2 separate regions of the Homo sapiens genome follow, and region 1 is linked to region 2. The links are contacts of gene promoters, found by promoter capture Hi-C in human tissues and cell types (Jung and others, 2019). All regions are on one chromosome and are shown on one strand. Each heading gives the region's core, a stretch centred on a gene start or on the middle of the fragment in contact. The rest is flanking DNA. Distances are from core to core; before and after follow the strand shown. Region 1 overlaps KATNBL1 (katanin regulatory subunit B1 like 1). Region 2 holds the start of LPCAT4 (lysophosphatidylcholine acyltransferase 4).

The links. Contacts are between HindIII fragments. The study calls those that stand out against the background at their distance.
Region 1: a contact is called between a fragment that was not itself captured here and the fragment with the promoter of LPCAT4 in region 2, in 1 of the 25 tissues and cell types used here (dorsolateral prefrontal cortex).

What each region holds. Positions count from the first base shown.
Region 1 is chr15:34,165,900-34,171,982 of GRCh38, reverse strand. The region is part of intron 1 of KATNBL1 (katanin regulatory subunit B1 like 1); the gene reads left to right. Among named protein-coding and RNA genes, the nearest start is that of KATNBL1, 41 kb to the left of the region's middle. The HindIII fragment of the contact is 5,274 bases long and covers 1-4,963 here.
Region 2 is chr15:34,365,946-34,372,003 of GRCh38, reverse strand. It overlaps LPCAT4 (lysophosphatidylcholine acyltransferase 4), which reads left to right and starts at 4,808. Exons shown (of 14, transcript NM_153613.3): 1 at 4,808-5,017. The coding sequence starts at 4,904. RefSeq lists enhancers at 2,249-2,308, 3,764-4,053, 3,653-4,648 and silencers at 4,424-4,473, 4,604-5,063, 5,184-5,233, 5,314-5,403. The HindIII fragment of the contact is 28,025 bases long and covers 1-6,058 here.

The DNA.
Region 1 (6,083 bases), core at 1,077-3,576, 200 kb after region 2:
TTACATTAGGTATTTCTAATGCTGTCCCTCCCCCACCCCCCACCCCATGACAGGCCCTGGTGTGTGATGTTCCCCGCCCTGTGTCCAAGTGTTCTCATTGTTCAGTTCCCACCTGTGAGTGAGAACATATGGTGTTTGGTTTTCTGCCCTTGTGATAGTTTGCTGAAAATGATCGTTTCCAGCTTCATTCATATCCCTGTTAAGGACGTGAACTCATCCTTTTTTATGGCTGCGTAGTATTCCATGATATATATGTGCCACATTTTCTTAATCCAGTTTATCATTGATGGACATTTGCGTTGGTTCCAAGTCTTTGCTACTGTGAATAGTGCTGCAATAAACATACATGTTCATGTGTCTTTATAGTAGCATGATTTATAATCCTTTGGGTATATACCCAGTAATGGGATCACTGGGCCAAATGGTATTTCTAGTTCTAGATCCTTGAGGAATCACCACACTGTCTTCCACAATGGTTGAACCAATTTACATTCCCACCAACAGTGTAAAAGTGTTCTTGTTTCTCCACATCCTCTCCAGCATCTGTTGTTGCCTGACTTTTTAATGATCACCATTCTAACTGGCATGAGACGGTATCTCATTGTGGTTTTGATTTGCATTTCTCTGATGACCAGTGATGATGAGCATTTTTTCATATGTCTGTTGGCTGCATAAATGTCTTCTTTTGAGATGTGTCTGTTCATATCCTTTGCCCACGTTTTGATTGGGTTGTTTGTTTTTTTCTTGACAATTTGTTTAAGTTCTTTGTAGATTTTGGATATTAGCCCTTTGTCAGATGGGTAGATTGCAAAAATTTTCTCCCGTTCTATAGGCTGCCTGTTCACTCTGATGGTAGTTTCTTTTGCTGTGCAGAAGCTCTTTAGTTTAATTAGATCCCATTTGTCTATTTTGGCTTTTGTTGCCATTGCTTTTGGTGTTTTAGTCATGAAGTCCTTGCCGATGTCTGTGTCCTGAATGGTATTGTCTAGGTTTTCTTCTAGGGTTTTTATGATTTGGCATCTAAGATTTAAGTCTTTAATCCATCTTGAATTAATTGTTGTATAAGGTGTAAGGAAGGGATCCAGTTTCAGCTTTCTACATATGGCTAGCCAGTTTTCCCAGCACCGTTTATGAAATAGGGAATCCTTTCCCCATTGCTTGTTGTCAGGTTTGTCAAAGATCAGATGGTTGTAGATGTGTGGTGTTATTTCTGAGGTCTCTGTTCTGTTCCATTGGTCTATATATCTGTTTTGGTACCAGTACCATGCTGTTTTCGTTACTGTAGCCTTGTAGTATAGTTTGAAGTCAGGTAGCATGATGCCTCCAGCTTTGTTCTTTTTGCTTAGGATTGTCTTGGCAATGCAGGCTCTTTTTTGGTTCCATATGAACTTTAAAGTAGTTTTTTCCAATTCTTCCAAGAAAGTCATTGGTAGCTTGATGGGGATGACGTTGAATCTATAAATTACCTTGGGCAGTATGGCCATTTTCACGATATTGATTCTTCCTATCCATGAGCATGGAATGTTCTTCCATTTGTTTGTGTCCTCTTTCATTTCATTGAGCAGTGGTTTGTAGTTCTCCTTGAAGAGGTCCTTCACATCCCTTGTAAGTTGGATTCCTAGGTATTTTATTCTCTTTGTAGCAATTGTGAATGGGAGTTCACTCATGATTTGGCTCTGTTTGTCTGTTATTGGTATATAGGAATGCTTTTGATTTTTGCACATTGATTTTGTGTCCTGAGACTTTGCTGAAGTTGCCTATCAGCTTAAGGAGATTTTGGGCTGAGATGATGGGGTTTTCTAAATATACAATCATGTCATCTGCAAACAGGGACAATTTGACTTCCTCTTTTCCTAATTGAATACCCTTTATTTCTTTCTCTTGCCTGATTGCCCTGGCCAGAACTTCCAACACTGTGTTGAATAGGAGTGGTGAGAGAGGGCATCCGTGTCTTGTGCCAGTTTTCAAAGGGAATGCTTCCAGTTTTTGCCCATTCAGTATGAGATTGGCTGTGGGATTGTCATAAATAGCTCTTATTATTTTGAGATATGATTCTTCAGTACCTAGTTTATTGAGAGTTTTTAGCATGAAGGGCTGTTGAATGTTGTCAAAGGCCTTTTCTGCATCTATTGAGATAATCATGTGGTTTTTGTTGTTGGTTCTGTTTATGCGATGGATTACGTTTACTGATTTGCATCTGTTGAACCAGCCTTGCATCCCAGGGATGAAGCCGACTTGATCGTGGTGGATAAGGTTTTGATGTGCTGCTGGATTCGGTTTGCCAGTATTTTATTGAAGATTTTCGCATCAGTGTTCATCAGGGATATTGGTCTAAAATTCTCTTTTTTTGTTGTGTCTCTGCCAGGCTTTGGTATCAGGATGATGCTGGCCTCATAAAATGAGTTAGGGAGGATTCCCTCTTTTTCTATTGATGGAATAGTTTCAGAAGGAATGGTACCAGCTCCTCTTTGTGCTTCTGGTAGAATTCGGCTGTGAATCTGTTTGGTCCTGGACTTTTTTTGGTTGGTAGGCTATTAATTATTGCCTCAATTTCAGAGCCTGTTATTGGTCTATTCAGCAATTGAACTTCTTCCTGGTTTAGTCTTGGGAGGGTGTACGTATCCAGGAATTTATCCATTTCTTCTAGATTTTCTAGTTTATTTACATAGAGGTGTTTATAGTATTCTCTGATGGCAGTTTGTATTTCTGGGGCATCAGTGGTGATATCCCCTTTATCAATTTTTATTGCATCTATTTGATTCTTCTCTGTTTTCTTCTTTATTAGTCTTGCTAGCAGTCTATCAATTTTGCTGATCTTTTCAAAAAACCAGCTCCTGGATTCATTGATTTTTTTTGAAGGGTTTTTGTGTCTCTATCTCCTTCAGTTCTGCTCTGATCTTAGTTATTTCTTGCCTTCTGCTACCTTTTGAATTTGTTTGCTCTTGCTTCTCTAGTTCTTTTGATTGTGATTTTAGCATGTCGATTGTAGATCTTTCCTGCTTTCTCTTGGGGGCATTTAATGCCATAAATTTCCGGCTACACACTGCTTTAAATGTGTCCCAGAGATTCTGGTTCGTTGTGTCTTTGTTCTCATTGGTTTCAAAAAACATCTTTATTTCTGCCTTCTTTCATTATTTACCCAGTAGTCATTCAGGAGCAGGTTGTTCAGTTTCCAAGTAGTTGTATGGTTTTGAGTGAGTTTCTTAATCCTGAGGTCTAATTTGATTGCACTGTGGTCTGAGAGGCAGTTTGCTGTGATTTCTGTTCTTTTACATTTCCTGAGGAGTGCTTTACTTCCAACTATGTGGTCAATTTTGGAATAAGTGCGATGTGGTGCTGAGAAGAATGTATATTCTGTTGATTTGGGGTGAAGAGTTCTGTAGATGTCTGTTAGGTCAGCTTGGTGCAGAGCTGAGTTCAAATCCTGGGCATCCTTGTTAACCTTCTGTCTCACTGATCTGTCTAATATTGACAGTGGAGTGTTGAAGTTTCCCATTGTTATTGTGTGGGAGTCTAAGTCTCTTTGTAGGTCTCCAAGGACTTGCTTTATGAATCTGGGTGGTCCTGTATTGGGTGCATATATATTTAAGATAGTTAGCTCTTCTTGTTGAATTGATTCCTTTACCATTATATAATGGTCTTCTTTGTCTCTTTTGATCTTTGTTGGCTTAAAGTCTGTTTATAAGAGACCAGGACTGCAAACCCTGCTTTTTTTTTGCTTTCCATTTACTTGGAAGATCTTCCTCCATCCCTTTATTTTGAACCTGTGTGTATCTTTGCACGTGAGATGGGTCTCCTGAATACAGCACACCGATAGGTCTTGACTCTTTATCCAATTTGCCAGTCTGTATCTTTTAATTGGGGCATTTAGCCCATTTACATTTAAGGTTAATGCTGTTATGTATGAATTTGATCCTGTCATTATGATGCTAGCTAGTTATTTCACCTGTTAATTGATGCAGTTTCTTCATAGCATCGATGGTCTTTACAATTTGGCATATTTTTGCAGTGGCTGGTACTGGTTGTTCGTAACCATGTTTAGTGCTTCCTTCAGGAGCTCTTGTAAGGCAGGCTTGGTGGTGACAAAATCTCTTGGTATTTGCTTGTCTGTAAAGGATTTTATTTCTCCTTCACTTATGAAGCTTAGTTTGGCTGGATATGAAATTCTGGGTTGAAAATTCTTTTCTTTCAGAATGTTGAATATTGGCCCCCACTCTCTTCTGGCTTGTAGGGTTTCTGCCGAGAAATGCGCTGTTAGTCTTCCCTTTGTGGGTAACCTGACCTTTCTCTCTGGCTGCCCTTAACATTTTTCCCTTCATTTCAACCTTAGTGAGTCTGACAATTAAGTGTCTTGGGGTTGCTCTTCTTGAGGAGTATCTTTGTGGTGTTCTCTGTATTTCCTGAATTTGAACGTTGGCCTGCCTTGCTAGGTTGGGGAAGTTCTACTGAATAATACCCTGAAGAGTGTTTTCTGACTGGTTGCATTCTCCCCGTCACTTTCAGGTACACAATCAAACATAGATTTGGTCTTTTCACATAGTCCCATGTTTCTTGGAGGCTTTGTTCGTTTCTTTTCACTCTTTTTTCTCTAATCTTGTCTTCTTGCTGTATTTCATTAATTTGATCTTCATTCACTTATATCCTTTCTTCCACTTGATCAAATCAGCTATTAAAGCTTGTGTATGCTTTATGAAGTTCTCGTACTGTGATTTTCAGCTCCATGATGTCATTTAAGTTCTTCTCTACACTGGTTATTCTAGTTAACCATTTGTCTAACCTTTTTTCAAGGTTTTTGGCTTCCTTGCAACAAGTGAGAACATGCTCCTTTAGCTTGGAGAAGTTTGTTATTACCGACCTTCTGAAGCCTAATTCTGTCAACCTGTCAAACTCATTCTCCATCCAGTTTTGTTCTCTTGCTGGTGAGGAGTTGTGTTCCTTTGGTGGAGAAGAGGTGTTCTGATTTTTTGAATTTTCAGCCTTTCTGCTCTGGTTTCTCCCCATCTTTGTGGTTTTATCTACCTTTGGTGTTTGATGTTGGTGACTTACGGATGGGGTTTTGGTGTGGATGTCCTTTTTGTTGATGTTGATGCTATTCCTTTCTGTTTGTTAGTTTTCCTTCTAATAGACAGGCCCCTCAGCTGCAGGTCTGTTGGAGTTTACTGGAGGTCCACTCCACACCCTGTTTGCCTGGGTATCACCAGCAGAGGCTGCAGAACAGCAAATATTGCTGCCTGATCCTTCCTCTGGAAGCTTCATTCCAGAGGGGAACCCACCTGTATGAGGTGTCAGTCGGCCTCTACTAGGAGGTGTCTCCCAGTTAGGCTACACAGGGGTCAAGGACCCACTTGAGGAGGCAGTCTGTCCATTCTCAGAGCTCAAACGTCGTGTTGGGAGAACCACTGCTCTCTTCAGAGCTATCAGACTGGGAAGTTTAAGTCTGCAGAAGTTTCTGCTGCCTTTTGTTCAGCTATGCCCTGACCCCAGAGGTGGAGTGTTAGAGGCAGCAAGCCTTGCAGAGCTGCAGTGGGCTCTGCCCAGTTCGAGCTTCCCCCAGCCACTTTGTTTACCTACTCAAGCCTCAGCAGTGGCGGACGCCCCTCCCCCTGCCAGGCTGCTGCTTCGCAGGTCTATCTCAGACTGCTGCGCTGGCAGTAAGCAAGGCTCCGTGGGCGTGGGACCTGCCGAGCCAGGCATAGGATAGAATCTCCTGGTCTGCCATTTGCTAAGACCATTGGAAAAGTGCAGTATCTGGGCTAGAGTGTCCCGTTTTTCCAGGTAGAGTCTGTCATGTATTCCCTTGGCTAGGAAAGGGAAATCTCCTGACCCCTAGCGCTTCCCGGGTGAGGTGACACCCTGCCCTGCTTCAGCTCGCCCTCTGTAGGCTGCATCCACTGTCCAGCCAGTCCCAGTGAGATGAACCAGGTACCTCAGTTGGAAATGCAGAAATCACCCGTCTTCTGTGTTGATCACCCTGGGAGCTGCAGACCGGAGCTGTTCCTATTATAATGGCCATCTTGGAATGGACTTGCCATCTCTACTTCTTGATGTCCTTGGTATTGCCAGTTCCTGAACGTTTAGGGGAT
Region 2 (6,058 bases), core at 3,559-6,058:
TGGCTTAAACAACAGAAATTTATTTATCACAGTTCTAGGGGCTGGGAAGTCCAAGATCAAGATGCCTGCAGATTCGTTGTCTGGTGAGAGCCAACTTTCTGATATGTAGACAGCTGTCTTCTCACTGTGTGCTCACATGTCGTTTCCTCCATATGTACTCATGGAAAGAAAGATCTCTTTCTTTCTTTCTTTCTCTCTCTCTCTCTCTCTCTCCCTCCCTCCCTCTCTCCCTCTCTCCCTCTCCCTCTCTCTCTTCTTTTAAGGGCACTAATCCCATCATAAGGGTCCTACCCTCATGATCTAATCTAGACCCAATTATCTCCCAAAGACTCCACCTTCAAATAGCCATCACATTGGGGTCTAGGGCTTCAACATATGAACTGGGGGAAGAGAGACACAAACATTCAGTTCATAACAGAAATAAATCTTGTCCTAGTGTGGTGGCTCACACCTGTAATCCTAGCACTTTGGGAGGCTGAGGCAGAAGGACTGCTTGAGACCAGGAGTTCCAGACCAGTCTGGTCAACATAGTGAGACCCTATCTCTATTAAAAAGAAATGAAAATAAGATTAATAAAATTAAAAATTTAAAAAGGACGGGCCACCAGTAGTGGCTCACACCTGTAATCCCAGCACTTTGGGAGGCTGAGGCAGAATGATTGCTTGAGCCCAGGAGTTTAAGACGAACAAAGCAAGACCCTGCCTCTATTTAAAAGAAGAAGGAGGAGGAGAAGGAGGTGGGGGGAGGAGAAGGAGATGGGAGGGGGAGGAGAGGGGGAGAAGGAGAAGGAAGAGGAGATGGGGGAAGAGGAGTAGGAGAGGTAGGAAGTGGGGGAAGAGAAGGAGGAGGAAGGGAAGGGGAGAAGAGGAAGAGGAGGAGGGGAGGAGGGGAGGAGAGGGAGGATGAGGAGGAGGAAGAGGAGGAGGGGAGGAGAGGGAGGATGAGGAGGAGAAGAGGAGGAAAAGGAGGAGGAGAGAAAGGAGAGAGGGGACGGAGAGGAGGAGGAGGAGAAGAAGAAAAGACGGAAGAAGGAAGAAGAGGAGGGAGGGGGAGGGGGAGGAGGAGAAGGGAAGTGAGGAAGGAGAGGAGGGGAGGAGAGGGAGGATGAGGAGAAGAGGAGGAAAAGGAGGAGGGGGAAAGGAGGAGGGAGGGGATGAAGAGGAGGAGGAGAAGAAAGAAGGAAGAAGGAAGAAGAGGGAGGGGGAAGGGGAGGAGGAGAAGGGAAAGGAGGAGGAAGAAGGGGAGGAGGAGGTGAAGGAGGAAGAGAAGAAGAAAAAGAAGAAAAGAATGCTGAGAATGCTGACTGCCTTCTTTGAGGCTATAAAACATGGGAGGTTGGGAGGGAGTCTAGACAGAAGTAACTTCTGGCTTCTGTCTGGTTCCCCCTTCCAACAGAAGATTAATGGTATCCAATAATCCAGAATTCCATTGATATGTCATTGTCTCCAGTACTCCCAGGTAATGGTGACTGATACAGATACAGGGGTCAGGTGGAGGAGAAACCTGTCTAGCCTGGTGGATATTTTCAAGGGAGTGACAGATGCTACCAGAGATGATCAATTTCTCAACGTTATTCTTTACAACTGGGTTGCCCCTTCTCAGACTGCCTGCAGAAAGGCCATCATAATAGTTTGGTGAGGGGCTAGAAAAAGGGGAAATGTGGATGCTTTCATGACTCATTCATAGAAATGAACTTCTTAGTTCATCCTGGATGACTGACACCGGCAAATATTTGATTATCAAAACTCTACCCCTGTAGTTGGGTTTTCATAGTATTTATTGCTCTTGAAGAGCACCAAAAATTTTCATTCTGAATTTGATGTATTTTGAGATGACTGTTCAGAAAGCCTGCAAAGCTGTCTTTTGTGGGGGAGATCTGCATCTGCAGAGAATCTGCATCGATGCAGAAAGGCTTTCTCTGGTGCTCTCCCTTGTCCAGATTTAGGAAAGATTAACTGAGAGTCTGACATCTTAAAAGGTCTAACAGAAACCTTTACCACCTATTCCTTCTAAAGGCTACTGTCTGTGAGATTTCATTTGTTCACCAAGACCGTCTTTGCTGGCCAGGCCTCTTCTTCTCCCCCTCCCATAACCTGTCTTGCCACCATAACCTGTTTTGCCCAGATGCAAGCTCTCATTCTTTCTGTAACCTCAAGGTGGTATAAAAGCAACCATTGGGCATTTCTTTGAGTTTTTATATTTTGTATGACTCCCACACACATGCGTGCATCAAATAAAATTTGTAGGAGACCGGACCCAGTGGCTCACACCTGTAATCCCAGCACTTTGGGAGGCCGAGGCGGGCGGATCACCTGAGGTCAGGAGTTCAAGACCAGCCTGCCTAACATGGCGAAACTCTGTCTCTACTAGAAATACCAAAAAAAAAAAAAAAAAATTAGCCAGGCATGGCGACGTGCACCTGCAGTCCCAGCTACTCAGGAGGCTGAGGCAGGAGAATCGCGTGACCCGGGAAGTGGAGGTTGCAGTGAGCTGAGATCGTGCCACTGCACTCCAGCCTGAGCGACAGAGCGAGACTCCGTCTCAAAAAAAAAAAAAAAAAAAAAAATGCGTAGGCCTCTTTTCCCTTTAATCTATGTAATCAGTTTGTTTTATAGACTCAAATTATCAAACATTCAAGGGAAAAATTTAAACTTCCCTACACTCTCATCTTTCCCTGTCTCCCACCTTATGAACATTATCTTAGTCCTTAAACCTCCTTCTAGGCTGGGCGTGGTGGCTCACGCCTGTAATCCCAGCACTTTGGCAGAGGCAAGTGGATCACCTGAGGTCATGAGTTCGAAACCAGCCTGGCCAACATGGTGAAACCCCATCTCTACTAAAAATACAAAAAAAAAAAAAAAAAAAATTAGCCAGGCATGGTGGCAGGCACCTGTAATCCCAGCTGCTCAGGTGGCTGAGGCAGGAGAATCGCTTGACCCGGGAGGCGGAGGATACAGTGAACCGAGATTGTGCCATTGCACTCCAGCCTGTGCAACAAAAGTGAAACTCCATCTCAAAAAGAAAAAAAAAAAACCGCCAGGTGCGGTGGCTCACGCCTGTAATCCCAGCACTTTGGGAGGCTGAGGCGAGTGGATCATGAGGTGAGGAGTTCGAGACCAGCCTAACCAATATGATGAAACCCCGTCTCTACTAAAAATACAAAAATTAGCCGGGTGTGGTGGTGCCCGCCTATAATCCTAGCTACTCAGGAGGCTGAGGCAGGAGAATTGCTTGGAGCCGGGAGACGGAGGTTGCAGCGAGCTGAGATCACGCCATTGCACTCCAGCCTGGGCAACAGAGCAAGAGCGCGACTCCGTCCCAAAACAACAACAACAAAAGACAAACACACACACACACACACACACACACACACACACACACACACACACAAACTTCTCCCCAAAGGCAAGGCAAGGGAGACTAATACATGCAGTTGTACTTTCTCGGTTCTGGTGAGAAAGCTGAAATCATCTGCTTAAAAAAAAAAGGTTTGGGTTGTACATGGCGGCTCACTACCTGTAGTCCCAACAGTTTGGAAGGCCGAGGTGGGAGGCTCACTTGAGGCTAGGAGTTCGAGACCAGCCTGGGCAATATAGCGAGACCCTATCTATACAAAAATAAAATGTGGAAATGATGTATTTGTGTTGGGACCTCTGTGTTATATACAAAAACATCCCAGTGCAGCTCCTTGGTCTCAGTAGGATGCATGAGCCTTCAACCCTCTCAGCCTGGGCTCAGAAAATTTCCTGGAGCAGATTAATTTGGAGTTTGGTTTAAAGGAGAAGCCAGTGGCGGCAAACACTCTTGGTTATGAGAGGTCTCTTTTTCTTTCACTTTCTTCCTTCAGCTCCCCTAACTGCCATGCAATGGGCAGAAGACATAAAGTGAACTTAAGGCGTATTCTTTCCTCAAGCAATGAGACTCTTACCCCTTTTGTCATGGCAATGGATCTCAGAGTCCACTTAATTCCCTGGTCCCTGATCTCAAACGATGGCCTGAGGCTAAACAATTTGTTTTCTAGGGTAGCTTGGAGCTTGTGGGTGAGGGGAATTACTACTGTGTCCTCTGCGTTCACCCAGAGAGTGACAGAGATCAGGAACCACTGCCTCTCCCCTGCCAGACCTTGTCGGGCTCATGGGAAGCACATGCGTCAGTGTACTAGGGATTCCTGGCGCCTCAAGGGTTCAAGCAACCCTCACACCAGTAAAGGCGGCCCTGCCTAGCACAGGCAGGACGCGGAGGTGGAGAGTTGCGGGGCGCCATGCAGCCGCCAGAGGACGCAAGTGCCTCAAGTCCCCGCGCGATGGCGCCCCACGGACCGGGAAGGAAAGGTGGTCCGCCTGCGAGGAGGCGCGGACCGGGCCAAGGAGCCCATAGGAAGAGCGGGGCGCCGCCTCACCCGCGAGCTGCCGGCCTCTGCATCCGGCCCACCTGTCCCTCCCTGCCTACCAACCCAAGAGCCTCACCCCGATCTGCGCTTGCTGGGTGACCTCGACGCCCGGGCGGGGACAGAGGGCGCTCTGAGCTCTGCGCTCAGCTCCCAGACCCACTCCCACTCCGAGGCGGAGGCCAGGTCTTCAGAGAGGAACGACGGAGGCGCAGAAGCCCAGGGGCAGCCCGCTCCAGCCCTGGCAGCCGCGGAACAATGGCCCGAGCGGCTGCGGGCGCCGCGGCGGGCGCGGAGGAGCAGGGGCGCCAGGGCGCTGGAAGCCCCGCCCCTCGGCCGGCGCCCTGACAACGCGGGCGGGCTGGGCTGCGCCGCCTGCTCCCCGCCCCTCGGCCGCCTGCACCGGGCGGGGCCCGGGCCAGAGCGCCGCCGCCGCCGCTGCTGCAGCAGCAGCTGCTCTGCAGAGTGGTGGCCGGGGCCAGGGCCGGGGTGCCCTCCCTCCCACCTTCTCCCGCCATGAGCCAGGGAAGTCCGGGGGACTGGGCCCCCCTAGATCCCACCCCCGGACCCCCAGCATCCCCCAACCCCTTCGTGCATGAGTTACATCTCTCTCGCCTCCAGAGGGTTAAGGTAATGTGTGGGGAGCGGGCGTCGGAAGGACCCGTGAGGATAGGAAAATGGGGCCATTTGAGCCCTGGCAAAGGTGGGCTTGGGGATCCACGAGAAGGAGATGGCTGAGAGGCTTGCGGAGCGGGAGTCCGGGGGTGCGCACGTGGGGGCGGCCGCGGTTGGGCAAGGAGTCCTGGAGAGGACGCTGCGGGCTTGGGCGATAGACAAGCTCGAAGATGTGGAAAAACTGAGTAGGTGGGGATGGAGGGCTGCAGGGGACCCTGGGGTTGGAGAGATGAAGGACGCTGGGGAATGCGGATTACATTCTGCAGAGCCTGATGGCTAGGATGGAGTTAGAGTCTACGGGAAGCCGGGGGTGGGGGCGGGGGCGGGGGCGTGCCGAGTATTCCTCCGAGGCATGACTTAGAGGGAAGACGTTTCTGGGCCGGGAGCCTGCGACCCTGTGCCCTTCCTACACTCCCTCTTCCCACTCCCTCCAACCCCCCTCCACCCCGCACTGCAGCACCTCCCGGTGGGGGCAGGGAGGCTGAGAGGGAGGTTGGCTACAGGAAGTGGAGGGCCGCGCCAGCCTAGGGGAGCTGGGAGGTGGTGTGGGGAGGGAGTGTCCAAGGTTTCTGCTGTCATCACCTCCCCGGAGGCAGGCTCCAGGGGCTAGGTTTGCTTACCTGCTTCTTCCCCAAGGCAGCCTATGGAGTCATCCTGGCTCCTGGCAGCCTCTCTCCCTTGCAGAGTGGGGCCGAGCTCTTGTCTCCCATATCCCCCGGTACTCTAAGATTGCTGTTGAGCAGTGTCAGAAAATGACCTCGGGTCTGAAAACTGGACCTCTGGCTGTTTACAGCCCTCTGCCTCCTAGGCCCAAAGTGGAAAGATCTGTGCACCTGGTTTCTGTTGGGCATAGGAGCTATTTATGGAATAAGATGTGGGGGAGGAGGACCTGTCTCTAACCTACTGTACATCAAGCACAGCGCCCTGCACTTTCGCATGCATTCTTATTAAATCCTCTAAGTGCTAGATGCTTTTTATGGCTTTCGGTTTTATAAA